2 separate regions of the Homo sapiens genome follow, and region 2 is linked to region 1. Evidence: promoter capture Hi-C in 16 types of primary human blood cells and fetal thymus (Javierre and others, 2016). All regions are on one chromosome and are shown on one strand. The core of a region is centred on a gene start or on the middle of the fragment in contact, and the rest is flanking DNA. Distances in the headings are between cores, read along the strand shown. Region 1 holds the start of EFCC1 (EF-hand and coiled-coil domain containing 1). Region 2 overlaps COPG1 (coat protein complex I subunit gamma 1).

Evidence for each region. The method cuts DNA at HindIII sites, captures the fragments that hold promoters and counts their contacts. A CHiCAGO score of 5 or more calls a contact.
Region 2: a fragment that was not itself captured here is called in contact with the fragment with the promoter of EFCC1 in region 1 in 1 of 17 cell types (total B cells); the score reaches 7.6 in total B cells.

Annotation. Positions count from the first base shown.
Region 1 is chr3:128,997,642-129,003,986 of GRCh38, forward strand. It overlaps EFCC1 (EF-hand and coiled-coil domain containing 1), which reads left to right and starts at 3,663. Exons shown (of 8, transcript NM_001377500.1): 1 at 3,663-4,683; 2 at 6,153-6,345. The coding sequence starts at 3,988. It also overlaps a transcript of CFAP92 not described here. The HindIII fragment of the contact is 12,645 bases long and covers 1,746-6,345 here.
Region 2 is chr3:129,270,087-129,276,200 of GRCh38, forward strand. COPG1 (coat protein complex I subunit gamma 1) reads left to right here. Exons shown (of 24, transcript NM_016128.4): 19 at 1,681-1,823; 20 at 2,158-2,329; 21 at 2,721-2,818; 22 at 4,752-4,890; 23 at 5,108-5,206. MIR6826 (microRNA 6826) reads left to right here and starts at 2,060; the gene lies at 2,060-2,157. The HindIII fragment of the contact is 6,063 bases long and covers 1,365-6,114 here.

The DNA.
Region 1 (6,345 bases), core at 2,413-4,912:
TCATTCCTTTTCATGACTGAATAATATTCTATTGTATGGACAGACCACAGTTTGCCTATCCATTCATCAGTTAATGGGCATTTGGCTTGGGCATTTAGACATTTATGAACAACGTTGCTATGAACATTCCCACACAAGTCTTTGTGTGGATGTGTTTTCATCTCTCTTGGGTCGATATCTAGGAGTGGAAGAGTTGGGTCGTATGGTCATTTTGTGATTAACTTCTTGAGAAACTGCCAAACTATCTTCCACAGGGGCTGCATCATTTTGTGTTCCCATCAACAACATGAAGTTTCCTGTTTCTCCAAATTCTTGACAAGATTTATTGCCTGTTTTATTCACTACAGCTATTCTCATGAGTATAATATAGTATTTCATCATAGTTTTCATGTGCATTTCCCTAACAAGAATACTGAGATTGTTTTATGCACATGTTGGCTATTTATACAACTTCTTTGGTGAAATGTCTGTTTGTATCTTCACCCACTTTTTGATTGGATTGTTTGTCTTCTTGTTACTGAGTTGTTAAGAGTTCATTGTAAATTCGGAATATAAGTCCTTTACTGGGCATATGTTTTACAAATATTTTCTCCTAGTCTCTTGTTCGTCATATTTTCTTAATAGTGTCTTTTGAAGTGCAAATGTTTTGAACTTTGATGAAGGTCCGATTCATCATTTTTTTCTTTTTTGGATCATGCATTTGGTGTCGTATCTAAGAAATCTTTGACTAACAACAGGCCTATTTTTAATAGAAGTAAAGCTTGGTGTCTGAACACTAAGCAAATCTACTAACCAAGACCCCTAAAAACCCAAAAGCTTTATGACACTGAAAATAATGGCCCAAGGACATTCCCAGACAGTTCTGGGCTCTGGATAGAACAACACAAGTTTCCAAAAAACAGGCTGATAATACCACAAGCTTATAAAATATGTATACTCCTTGGCCCAGTAATAAATCACTCAAGATATGGCACAAACTGTTCACAGTATGGTTTTTGCGGAGAAAAGCTGAAAACCACCTCAGTGGGCATCTGTGGGGGATGACAAAGCACCTTATAGTTCATCCCCAGGGAGCACAGAGCAGCCTCTGGAGCAGTGTCTGCAAAGAAACCACAGCCAAGCTGTTTACAAAGCTCAGTTCCTGTGCAAAGAAAGATCCCAATGGCGCCCTTTCCACTGTGCTTTTCATGTCAAGTTGAATGAGCTACGATTTGCACACTGTAAAATTCAGATGTACACAGTCATGCAACCACTACACCATGAAGATAGAGTATTTCAATCACTCCAAAAAGTTCTTTCATGCCCAAATACATAGAAAAGTCTGGAAATAAATACATCAGAAATACACAGTGATCCTCTCTTGGTGGCAGAATGGTGGATGATTTTTGCTTTTTAGCATTTTCCCGGACCTTTAAAAGACACTTTAAACAATATACTATTTGAAATGGCTCAAACAATACTGAACTGACTTCAGAAAATCATTTCTTTGCCACAGCCCTGACTCTCTCCCACACAGACACACGCCCATCCCCCCAGCTCATACAAAAGAACGCAAGGAGACCTCTGAGTTTGCTCACTTTGAACCTTAAACAAAAACCTTGTGGATGCAACCAGAATTATTTCAGAGGTGCCTGGTAACACCGCAGGGCAGACAGACAGGCCTGACAGCAAACCATTATCAACCCTTACTTCCCTGAGCTGTAGGGGAGTGGAGGCCGGCAACGGCTCCCAGCAAGACATTTAAAAGCTTTCTTTTCAATATTGACTGGCCCAGGAAAGCTACTGTTCAAAGGATTCCTTCACCAGCTGCAGGGATGGGGGGTGGGGAGGGTGTTGCACTCTTGCCTGGGCTACCAGCTCTTAGGGCTGACATGAAATAAAATCAGGTTCTTTTTTTTTTTTTTTTTTTTTTTTTGAGACGGAGTCTCGCTCTGTCGCCCAGGCTGGAGTGCAATGGCAGGATCTCAGCTTACTGCAACCTCCGCCTCCCAGGTTCAAGCGATTCATCTGCCTCAGCCTCCCAAGTAACTGGGATTACAGGCGCCTGCCACCACGCCCAGCTAACTTTTGGTATTTTTAGTAGAGATGGGGGTGGTTCACTATGTTGTCCAGGCTGTTCTCGAACTCTTGACCTCAGGCAATCCACCCGCCTCGGCCTCCCAAAGTGGTGGGATTACAGGCGTGAGCCACCGCGACCGGCCAAGAAAAAGAAACACATGAGAACATCTTAACAAAAGGGAAATACTGCAGTGTCTCCCATCTGCAGAAAGAACCACTGAATCCACTTATGAATCCCTCCATCTTCTTCTGTGCACTCACATACACATGTCCTAGTAGAAAATACTTAGTATTGTTTTGTGTGTTTTTGTTCTTGTTATGTAAGCATCAGTGTTGTGCATAATCAGCTTGTGGCTTGCTGTGTCCGCTCATCCTCGTTTGCTGAGTCCTAGCTGATTTGATGGACACCAGGTTGTCTCCAGTTTCTCACTGTAATAAACAATGATGCAGTGAACATCCTGTGCACAGTGGCTTTCGAAGGTAGAAGCCAAGAAGTGGACGTGATGTAAAAACTTTGTCAAATTGCCATTACTTTTATAATTAAAAACAAACCTAAAAGAATATGTCCAAAATGCTTGGGGAGAAGCCTCTAACTCCTTCCCAGCAGATATGTACTCTGGGCAAAGCCTTCAAGAACAAGTACGAATTTGCCAAATGGACAACGTGCTGATTCTGGGATACTGTGGCAGAGGAGACAGAATGCTATCGCTTTTCAAACGGCAAGATTTTACATTTAAACTCACAGAGTTATCCACAAGGCAAGATTCTGTCTCTGTCATAGCTAGGAACAGCTGAAGAGTCTGCCTCTTGCTCCAACATGGCTGGGTACCGTGGCTGGATAACCGTTCCCGGTGCAGGTAACAGGTGGACAATATCACAATATCACTGCACCCCTCTCGTGAAAAAGAAAGGGAACACAGTCTAGCACTCACCAGAGAAGCAGGTTTTTCTTCATCTTCCAGAAATGTGTTCTAAAACACCAGAAAAAAACATCAGCCAATCATCGACCTGTTAACCTAACCCCAGCTCAAGAGATGGAACTCGGATCCCATTGCCAAGTCAGCACCGGCAGGCACAAAGGTGGCAGGGCCGGGAGACACCACTTTCCCGAGAGTCCTATCCCCACCCCCAACAGGGATCGGGAGAGAGCAGTTAGCACAGGGCTCGTCTCAGATGGGCTTCTCACCAGCGGGGTGCCCCTAACCTAGACCCCTTGCCTCTCCAAGCCTGTTTCCCTCTCTTTCCCAGTTACTACTTGGGGCTCTTTGCACGGTCTATGGTGGCACAAGAAGTGGGTTCGGAAACCCAGTAGCTGAATTGAAGCGGAGGGGAGGCTTTTCCGCACCTACGGCTACAGGGCGGCGAGAGCAGGCTTGCCAGGCAACCCTCGAAAGGCCTTCCGGGAAGAGGGGGAAGAGTGACGCTTGGGTGTGGGGGCACATCCCCAGCAACCGGACGAGGCCGCCACCCCCAAGGCCCTCCTGGGCTTCGGATCCCGCGCCAACCCCTCGCCCAGGTCTCGGAGCGAACTCTCCGCGCCAGGCGGGCGGGGCGGAGGGAGGAGGGAGTTGAGAGTGGACGGCCGGGAGTGGGAGGAAAAGCGCAGACGCCAGGAACGCCCCGTGAGTGAGGAGAGGAGAGCGTGGGAGTCACGCGGAGAAGCCAGACCCAGACGCCGACCGGGCACTGGTGGCGCTGCCGGGGTCCCGGGGGTTCCTGGACCCCCTACCCCAGGCCCCTCCAAAGCAACTGGGGTAAACCAGACGCACTGTGAGGCCAGCGCAGCTGCTGGACACGGTCCCCGGCGCCGCTCCAACCAGACCGCGACCGCTAAGCCCCTCCTTTCGAGAAACTCTGGGGCCGCCCCTGGAAGTGGCGGGGCGAAGGGACCGGAGGAGGGACCGGAGGAGCGAGGCGCGCGGCGCAGCGATGGAGCCGGTCAGCACGGGCGCGGAGGCCGGCATGGAGGGCGCGGGAGGTGACCCGTACCGGCGACCTGCGCGGCGCACGCAGTGGCTGCTGAGCGCCCTGGCGCACCACTACGGGCTGGACCGCGGCGTGGAGAACGAGATCGTGGTGCTGGCCACCGGCCTGGACCAGTACCTGCAGGAGGTCTTCCACCACCTGGACTGCCGCGGCGCCGGCCGTCTGCCCCGCGCCGACTTCCGAGCGCTCTGCGCTGTGCTGGGGCTGCGCGCGGAGGGGGCCACCACGGCCGGGCAGGCAGCAGGTGACGGGAACTCCAGAGATGTGACCCCCGGGGATGCGGCCGCTGAGTTGGCCACGGACGGGGACTCAGATACCGATGAAGAGGCGCGCCTGGCGCTGCGCGCCGAGCCGCCGGAGCTCACCTTCCGCCAGTTCCACGCGCGCCTCTGTGGCTACTTCGGCACCCGTGCGGGGCCCCGGCTGCCCCGCGGCGCTCTCAGCGAGCACATCGAGACGCAGATCCGCCTGCGCCGTCCGCGCCGCCGCCGCCGCCCGCCCTGCGCGCCTGGCCCCGACAGCGGTCCTGACTGTGAGCGCGTTGCGCGGCTGGAGGAGGAGAATAGCAGCTTGCGCGAGTTGGTGGAGGACCTGCGCGCCGCGCTGCAGAGCAGTGATGCGCGCTGCCTAGCACTGCAGGTGCGCGCCGGCCACGAAGGGAGGGTGGTAACGCCCGGGAGAGGGCTCGAACTAAAAGCTGGCTGGCTGCGGAGCCCGACAGGACAGAGTCAGAGGAAGGGGAGACAGAGGGCAGCCCCACACCATCCCACTCCGCATCAGCACACTTGCATCTTGCCCCTGTTCCTCCCCATTCCACTCCAGTCCCCAACCCTATTCTTACCACCTATTCCATTCCTGAAAACCCCAATCACACTCAAACAACCATACCCCACTTTTCTGCTCCACCGCCACATCATCGCGTCTTGCCCCTTTAACCTAGGAATTGCACCTGTCTGGGTAGTCTCACATATTCCCTTTCAACAAGCATCTTTCTCTCTCCTTCCTGCCAGGCTTCTGGGAGGTTTAGGAGACAGAAGTGTGAAGAAGGCCCTGTCCTCACCTTTAGGGATATCCCTGCCTCCTGGGGTAGACTGACAGCTCCTTCTGTCAATCAGCAAAGACTTATGGGGCTCCCTGTGGGAGAAACAGAGACAAGTGAGAAACAGACAATGTGGCTCACACTGTGGATCAGGCACTCACGGGCCACCAAGTGCCTGCGGGAACCAGACCCGCTCTGGGCTATTGAGAAGAAACCATGGGGTGAGATAGGGACCCAGCCTTAGCATCTGGGAGCCGTCGACAAACACTTAAGCACTGTGCCAGCCGAGCACCAAGGGCAGTGCTGGGCCGCAGGGGTCAGAGGAGGAAAGGAACAGCCCCTACCCCAGGCGACAACAGGCCAGGAAGAAACTGACATTATATGACCCCGCCTTAGCTCAGGACACTGCAGAGTGCAGGGAAGTGGCAAGGTGTGGTTTTCAGTGTCAGTGTGCATGGAAGCCAGGGTGGAGGCGGGAAACTACTCCTCTGATGTGGAATCCCAAGTAACGTACTGGGAGCCATGGGATGCGCCTGAACGGTCTTCCGGCATCTCTCATGCTTGGTATTTATTGAGCACCTACTATGTGCCAGGTTTGTTTTAGGCTCTGGGAACACACCAGTAAAGACAGATAGAAACCACCCTCAAAAGCCTCTAGTGAGCAGGCACGGGGAGGGCTGGAAATGCCACTGGGGGGAGTCTAGGAGATGAGGAACCGCCACCCGGCAGGCTGAACGCCGCCAATACAGTAGGCCGAGAAGAGTCGCGAGGTTGGTACTATAGAGGGAACAGAATACAGGCGTCGTGTCTCAGTTTCCTTCAGTGAAAAAACGTTGGGGGGTGGGGGATGAGGAGGAATCAGAGCTTGGGCCTCCCTGGGGATGTGGCGAGGGTTAAAGGAGCTTGGACGCACCGGACCTAAGGGCCTGGCACCCGGAAGCAGACGGCGCAAGAAACGTGCTCAAGCGCTTCTGGGTGCAGAGGCATGGGGCCGCCGTCGTGGCGGGCGTTCGTCTGGTGCATCTGGCTGGGGCACTTACCCCCTGCCCCTGCTGCCCTGTCCCCGCAGGTCGGACTCTGGAAGAGCCAGGCGAGCACCCACGAGATGGGGCACGGCGGGCCGGAGGCTGCGGTGCGGGAGCTGCGTCAGGCGCAGGGCGCCCTGGCTGCGGCGGAGGCCCGCGCTGGGCGGCTGCGCCGTGGCCAGGCCGAGGTGCGGCGGCGCGCGGAGGAGGCCCGGCAGGTGGTGCTGCGCAGCCTGC
Region 2 (6,114 bases), core at 3,146-5,645, 270 kb after region 1:
AGGGCCCTTATGATTACACTGGCCCCCCCTGGATAATCCAGGATAACCCCTAGCTCAAGATCCTTAATTTAATCACATCTACAAAGTCCCTTTTACCATGCAAGGTAACATAGCTGCAGGTTCTGGGAATTAGCATGTGGGCATCTTGGAGTCATTATTCTGCCACACCTTCCAAGGAAGTCTCCTAAGCCGCTTAAAGGGTAACAATTCCATTTTTAAACAATCATCCAAAAGCCTCACATTTACTAATCACATACATGTTCAGTTCCAAGAACTTTCCTAGATCTTGAATTTATTGCCTCATTTGTCTTTACAACAACGCTGTGATCAAGATAATGATATCAGTTTTATTGATGAAGAGTCTGAAACCCTACCAACAGAATCCCCCAGGGAGTAAGTATCAGGCCCAAAACTCTGAGTCCCAAGAAAATAAATATCAATAGAAAAGCACTCTAGTGGTTGATGGTCATGGTGGCCCAAAAGTTCCTCCTAATATCTAGCCTGGATTGTTCTGGGCTTTTTATTGCCTGCATATTCATTAGATTCAGTCTTCAGGCTGCAGAGGGCTGAAGTGGTCACATAGGCTGACTTTTTGTGGAGGAAAAAAGCAAAATAATAAAAATAAGGCCTACCTTTCTCTATGTCTGAAACGTGAATTGAGTACCTTCTAAGTAAAGGGAAAAATATCAGATCCATGGCCTCAAAGCACAATCCCTGTTCTCATGGAGTTCAATTAATTGGGAAGACAAGTTGAAAATCTTAGAGCAGTGGTCTTTAAATATCAGTATATATTGGAATAATCTGAGGAAACATGTTAGAAATGCAAATTCCTTGATCCTGAAACCAGAGATTCTGATGTAGTAGATTTGGGATGGAGTCTGAGTTTTTAGCAAGCTCTGCCGCCAACCCCTAGTAATTCTGATACAGTTGATCCATGGTCATAGTGCGAGGAATCCTGCCATAGAATAGGTACAAGAGTGGCAGCTGTAGCCATTATAGGTGGACACCATGTGCACACATCTGCCAGATGCCTCATTCACTTGGGTTATTCCCTTTAGTTTGCAAGGAATGCCAGGACCAGCCAGGGTGGGGTCCCATGGGCCTGTGCTTGAATCCAGTGCTTGAACCTGGGCATAGGGTGTAGGGATAGGTCTTACCAGACACAAACAATTCTAAGTTAGGTTTTCTGCAACACTCTCATTCTGAAATATCTCTTTATTGGCCATTTGTCTTAACTGATAAATATATAGGACCAGTTTGTTATTTTGTCTGATTTTGTAGCTATAGCAGTATCGATCTTATTTTCCTAATTGTCACCTTCTTTTAAGAATCCTTGCTGCGGTAGGGGGCGGAAATCCTTGCTAAGCTTCTATAGCTGGGGGATTCTCCAATTAGGTCTAGGATTTTGTGGTCTCATATCAGTTTTTTGCTTCTGAGGTCTTTCATGGTACAGAGATGGGGAGAGTATTTGTGGGGGGTTGTGCCACATGAGCGAAGTCAGGGAGATGAGAAAATGCATGGATATATTCAGGAAATAATGAGTAGCCAGTTGGGTAAACATATCTATCCATCTAAGGTAGGGTGGAACACCTTGAGAATGGTCATGGGAATTTATTAGAAACCATCAACAAGTTGGTCTGGGGATCGAGAAGCTGAGTGAATGTGGCCTGTGGATTTCAGAGCAGTTGGCAGCAGTGCCAGAGTTCCGCGGTCTTGGGCCCCTCTTCAAGTCCTCGCCTGAGCCCGTGGCCCTCACCGAGTCAGAGACGGAGTATGTCATCCGCTGCACCAAACACACCTTCACCAACCACATGGTTTTTCAGGTGAGCAAGGTGGGCTGAGGCCCTGCTGGGGCATGCGCCCAGGGAGTTGTCCCAGGTCTGGCAGGTCCTGTAGGGTCATGGGTCCCCACACTGCATTGGTTGGGAGCCCAACTTGATGACAGAATCTGTCCCCAACAGGTCGGTCTCTCATATCTCTTGACTCGGGACATCCATGGCTCCCGATTGTCAGCATGAAGACAGGGAACCTGGGGCAGGGGGACTGGGATGGGAATCACCTTGGTCAATAGGAAAGAGGTGGGACCTCCTGGCTTTTCCTCTGCAGCATGGCTCGGACCTAGTGCAATGTTTAAGCTCCCCTCTCTTTCCTGTTCAGTTTGACTGCACAAACACACTCAATGACCAGACCTTGGAGAATGTCACAGTGCAGATGGAGCCCACTGAGGCCTATGAGGTGCTCTGTTACGTGCCTGCCCGGAGCCTGCCCTACAACCAGCCCGGGACCTGCTACACACTGGTGGCACTGCCCAAAGAAGACCCCACAGCTGGTGAGCCCCTCTCCAGATACCACCCTATCCTCCTGGGAGCTCATGGGGTCAGGAGGAGGTGGGCGGCTGGGCACCAGCTGTTTGCCTTCTATTAGAGCTTCAGCTCCTTGATTTCAGTCCCAAGAAGAAGAATAGCTGAGTCCCAAGTGCTCTTCTTTAAAAATTTTTTTTTTTAAAGAGACAGGATCTCACTAGAACTCATGACTTTCCTGTCCTACAAGGTGGCACCCTCTGTCCAGCTTTGTGGGATTGGATGGCTTGTTGCTGCTACTAATAACATAGCAGGGGCCTAGAAAGCAGGCTGTGACCCCTGCCTGCTTGTCCCCTGCAGGAGGAGCCCATCCCCTGCAGGCTGGGGACATCCTAACTACCCAGCCTCTCTTCCCCACAGTGGCCTGCACATTCAGCTGCATGATGAAGTTCACTGTCAAGGACTGTGATCCCACCACTGGGGAGACTGATGACGAAGGCTATGAGGATGAGTATGTGGTAAGATCCTGGTGTCAGGAAGCTCAGTTTTGTGCTGAGGCTGCAAAGCAACTCCCTTCAGGAACTGACAGTGAGACTGGAGCTGTTTTTGGCTTTTTAGCTCTTTAAAATTTTATTTTTTTATTTTTATTTTTTGAGATGAAGTTTCTCTTTTGTTACCCAGGCTGGAGTGCAGTGGCGCGATCTCGGCTCACTGCAACCTCTGTCTCCCTGGTCCAAGCGATTCTCTTGCCTCAGCCTCCCAAGTAGCTGGGATTACAGGCGCCCACCACCATGCCTGCCAAATTTTTTGTATTTTTGGTAGAGATAGGGTTTCACCATGTTGGCTAGGCTGGTCGCGATCTCCTCACCTCAGGTGATCCACCTACCTTGGCCTCCCAAAGTGTTGGGATTACAGGCGTGAGCCACCGCGCCCGGCCTAAAATAACTTTTTAAACTTATGGAAATACATGTTCATGTGTAAAAAGAAAACTTGGGAAATACAAAAACAAAATTCAAAACAAAGTATGAACAACAGGAAAACATTACTCATAATCCTTAGAGTTATTTTTGGGGGGAAGTGGTATAATTGAAATCATTCTTACAGTGTAGACCTTGCTATTTTAAAACCATAGTGTATTTTCCAGTATCATTACAAATACTTCATAAACACAATTTTTTTAGTGGATTTAAAATACTGTTATATACTATGTCAAAACTTGATTGACTTTTCACTCCTTTAATGTTGGGCATTTGGGTTTCCATATTTTCACTATTTATATTGCTGCATTAAATATCCCTTTAGATACAAATTTTTATCTGCATTTTAGATTATTTCTTTAGGATAGATTCCTAGAAGGAGAATAGTTGGGTCAAAGGGTAAGCATGATTTTAAGACATTTTGATTCCTCTTGTCAAATGCTTTCTGGATAAATTTGACCTGTTTGCTGTGCTGGGCAGTCCTTTCATGCACTGGAATAGCCCTTCTAAATTCTCCTATCTTAGCTCGGTGGAACTAAGTACAGGATCCTTCTGAGGTCTGACTTTGGGGCAGTGGCTCAGGGCCATCTGAGTGCAGACCATTATGCTCAGCCTGTGGATGGGGACTGTTAGAACTCCTCCTGACTAGAGGGACAGTCACAGTGGAATACAACTGACATTCGCCATTGTGTCATCCTAGAGTCACAGTTGAGGATGGATGGACCTTCCTTGAGCTGGAAATGACCCCGAGGCAGGAGCTGCTCTAAGACCAAGTGAGCTCCTTGAGAGAGCTGGGTCTGTTTGAGCCCATCCAGAGATGAAGAAAAAAAAAAAAGAGAGAGAGAGCTGGGTCTAAGTTGTATTTATATACACTGTAAACATCCACAGGAGTAGGGCCTCAGTGAAAATCTGATGGGAGAATGAATGGGGAACCTTCATGTAGACTCAGTGGGAGTATTATGTGTCAAGTTCAGGGAAGACACAGCTGAAATGGAGATAGAGATTCAGGATCTGTCAAATCCAGAGGACACAGCTGGGGTAGGAGGTTTCTGCTAGTTTCTGCTGAACTAGAAACAGCTGCTGGTCCTGAAGAGCTCATCATCCCCTAGGAGGGACAGGCATAGGAAGCAGACCTCTGAGAATGCTATGTAATTCCCTGCATGCCAGGTCCTGGAAGCACTGACACTAGGCAGGCTTAGAAGAGATGTGATCTCACAGCAGGCGGCTCTAGGCTGAATTAGTAGATTGGTACTTGGGATTAGGGCGTTTTCTGTTGAAGGGATACCATTTGCCTTTGGGCACCTCAAGGATAGGTACCTGGTCAAGTTGCTCTATGTCCCCAGAGTCTAGCACAGTCCTCAGTGCCGAGCAAGCACCTGTGGAAAGAGTTGCAGGAAGGGATGTGTGGATGAGTTCAGAGCAGAGGCCCGTAGGTGTGTAGATGGGTGCCTGATTTCTACCTCCATCTCTCCAGCTGGAAGATCTGGAAGTTACTGTAGCTGATCACATTCAAAAGGTCATGAAACTGAACTTCGAAGCAGCCTGGGATGAGGTAGGGGATGAATTTGAGAAGGAGGAAACGTTCACCTTGTCTACCATCAAGACACTTGAAGGTAAAATCCTGGGAATGCCATCTCTGGCCTAATTACTGTTCAAGATCTTTGGCTACTATTGAAGTGCTCATCCCTTTTCTCTCCAAGGATCCAGGGCCATGTCTGGAGCACATATGTCAAATGCCACTTCATTAAAAGCCCTTCAGAACATGGGGGAGTGGTGGTGGCACAAAGGGCAGATAAGATGGCTTAACAATATTGGGATTTCTCATTACAGAGGCTGTGGGTAATATTGTGAAGTTCTTGGGAATGCACCCTTGTGAGAGGTCAGACAAAGTGCCGGATAACAAGAACACCCACACGTTGCTCCTGGCTGGTAAGTGGCATTTCTAGATGGGGAGGGCCTGGATAGCTTACAGCCTGGATGCCACTGGATCCTGGGCTAAGGACTCCACTGTAAATATGGGGAGTCAAAATTCACAGCATTTAAAATTCACAAAGTATAAAATAATCTGCAGCGAAATGTTTCCTCCCTACCTTGGCTGCCAGCCATTCAGATTCCCTTCCGAGAAGCGACCAGTGTTACTATTACAAACAATACTTGTATAACCTTGCGGTTATTTTATGGCTATAAAAGCTAATAGGAACGCATTTCCTTTTTTTAACTCAAATGTTTATGTACAAATGGTATATATATTGTCCTCCGATTTGCTTTTCACTTTACATTGCATCTTAGAGATCTTCCCCGTCAATATGTAGAGCTTCCTCATTCTTTTTCTTTTAATTGTGGTAAAATATACATAAAATTCACCATTTCGACCATTTTCAAGTGTATGGTTCAGCGGCATTAAGTACATTCACACTATTGTAAAACTATGACCACCATCCATCTCCAGAACTTTTTTCATCCCAAACTGAATCCTCATTTTTTTTATAGTTGCTTAGTATTCCATTGTGTGGATGCACCACATATTCTATGGAACAGCCACTACTGATGAACATTTAGTTTGATTTCAATCTCTTGCTATTACAGATGTTACAGTAAATAATCGTGTACACACACACACACACACACACACACAGTTTACTTTGCATGTGTACACTGAGAATATCTGTAGGATAAATTTTCCAAGGCATCACCAGTTCAAAGTGATTTGTGTTTCTCATCTTGATAAATAACTCCAAGTTGCCTTCCATAGAATTGTATACCTTTCTTCCTACACTGTGGACAACATAATATGTTACCACACTTTATGATCTTTTCCAGTCTGTGTGGACAATGAT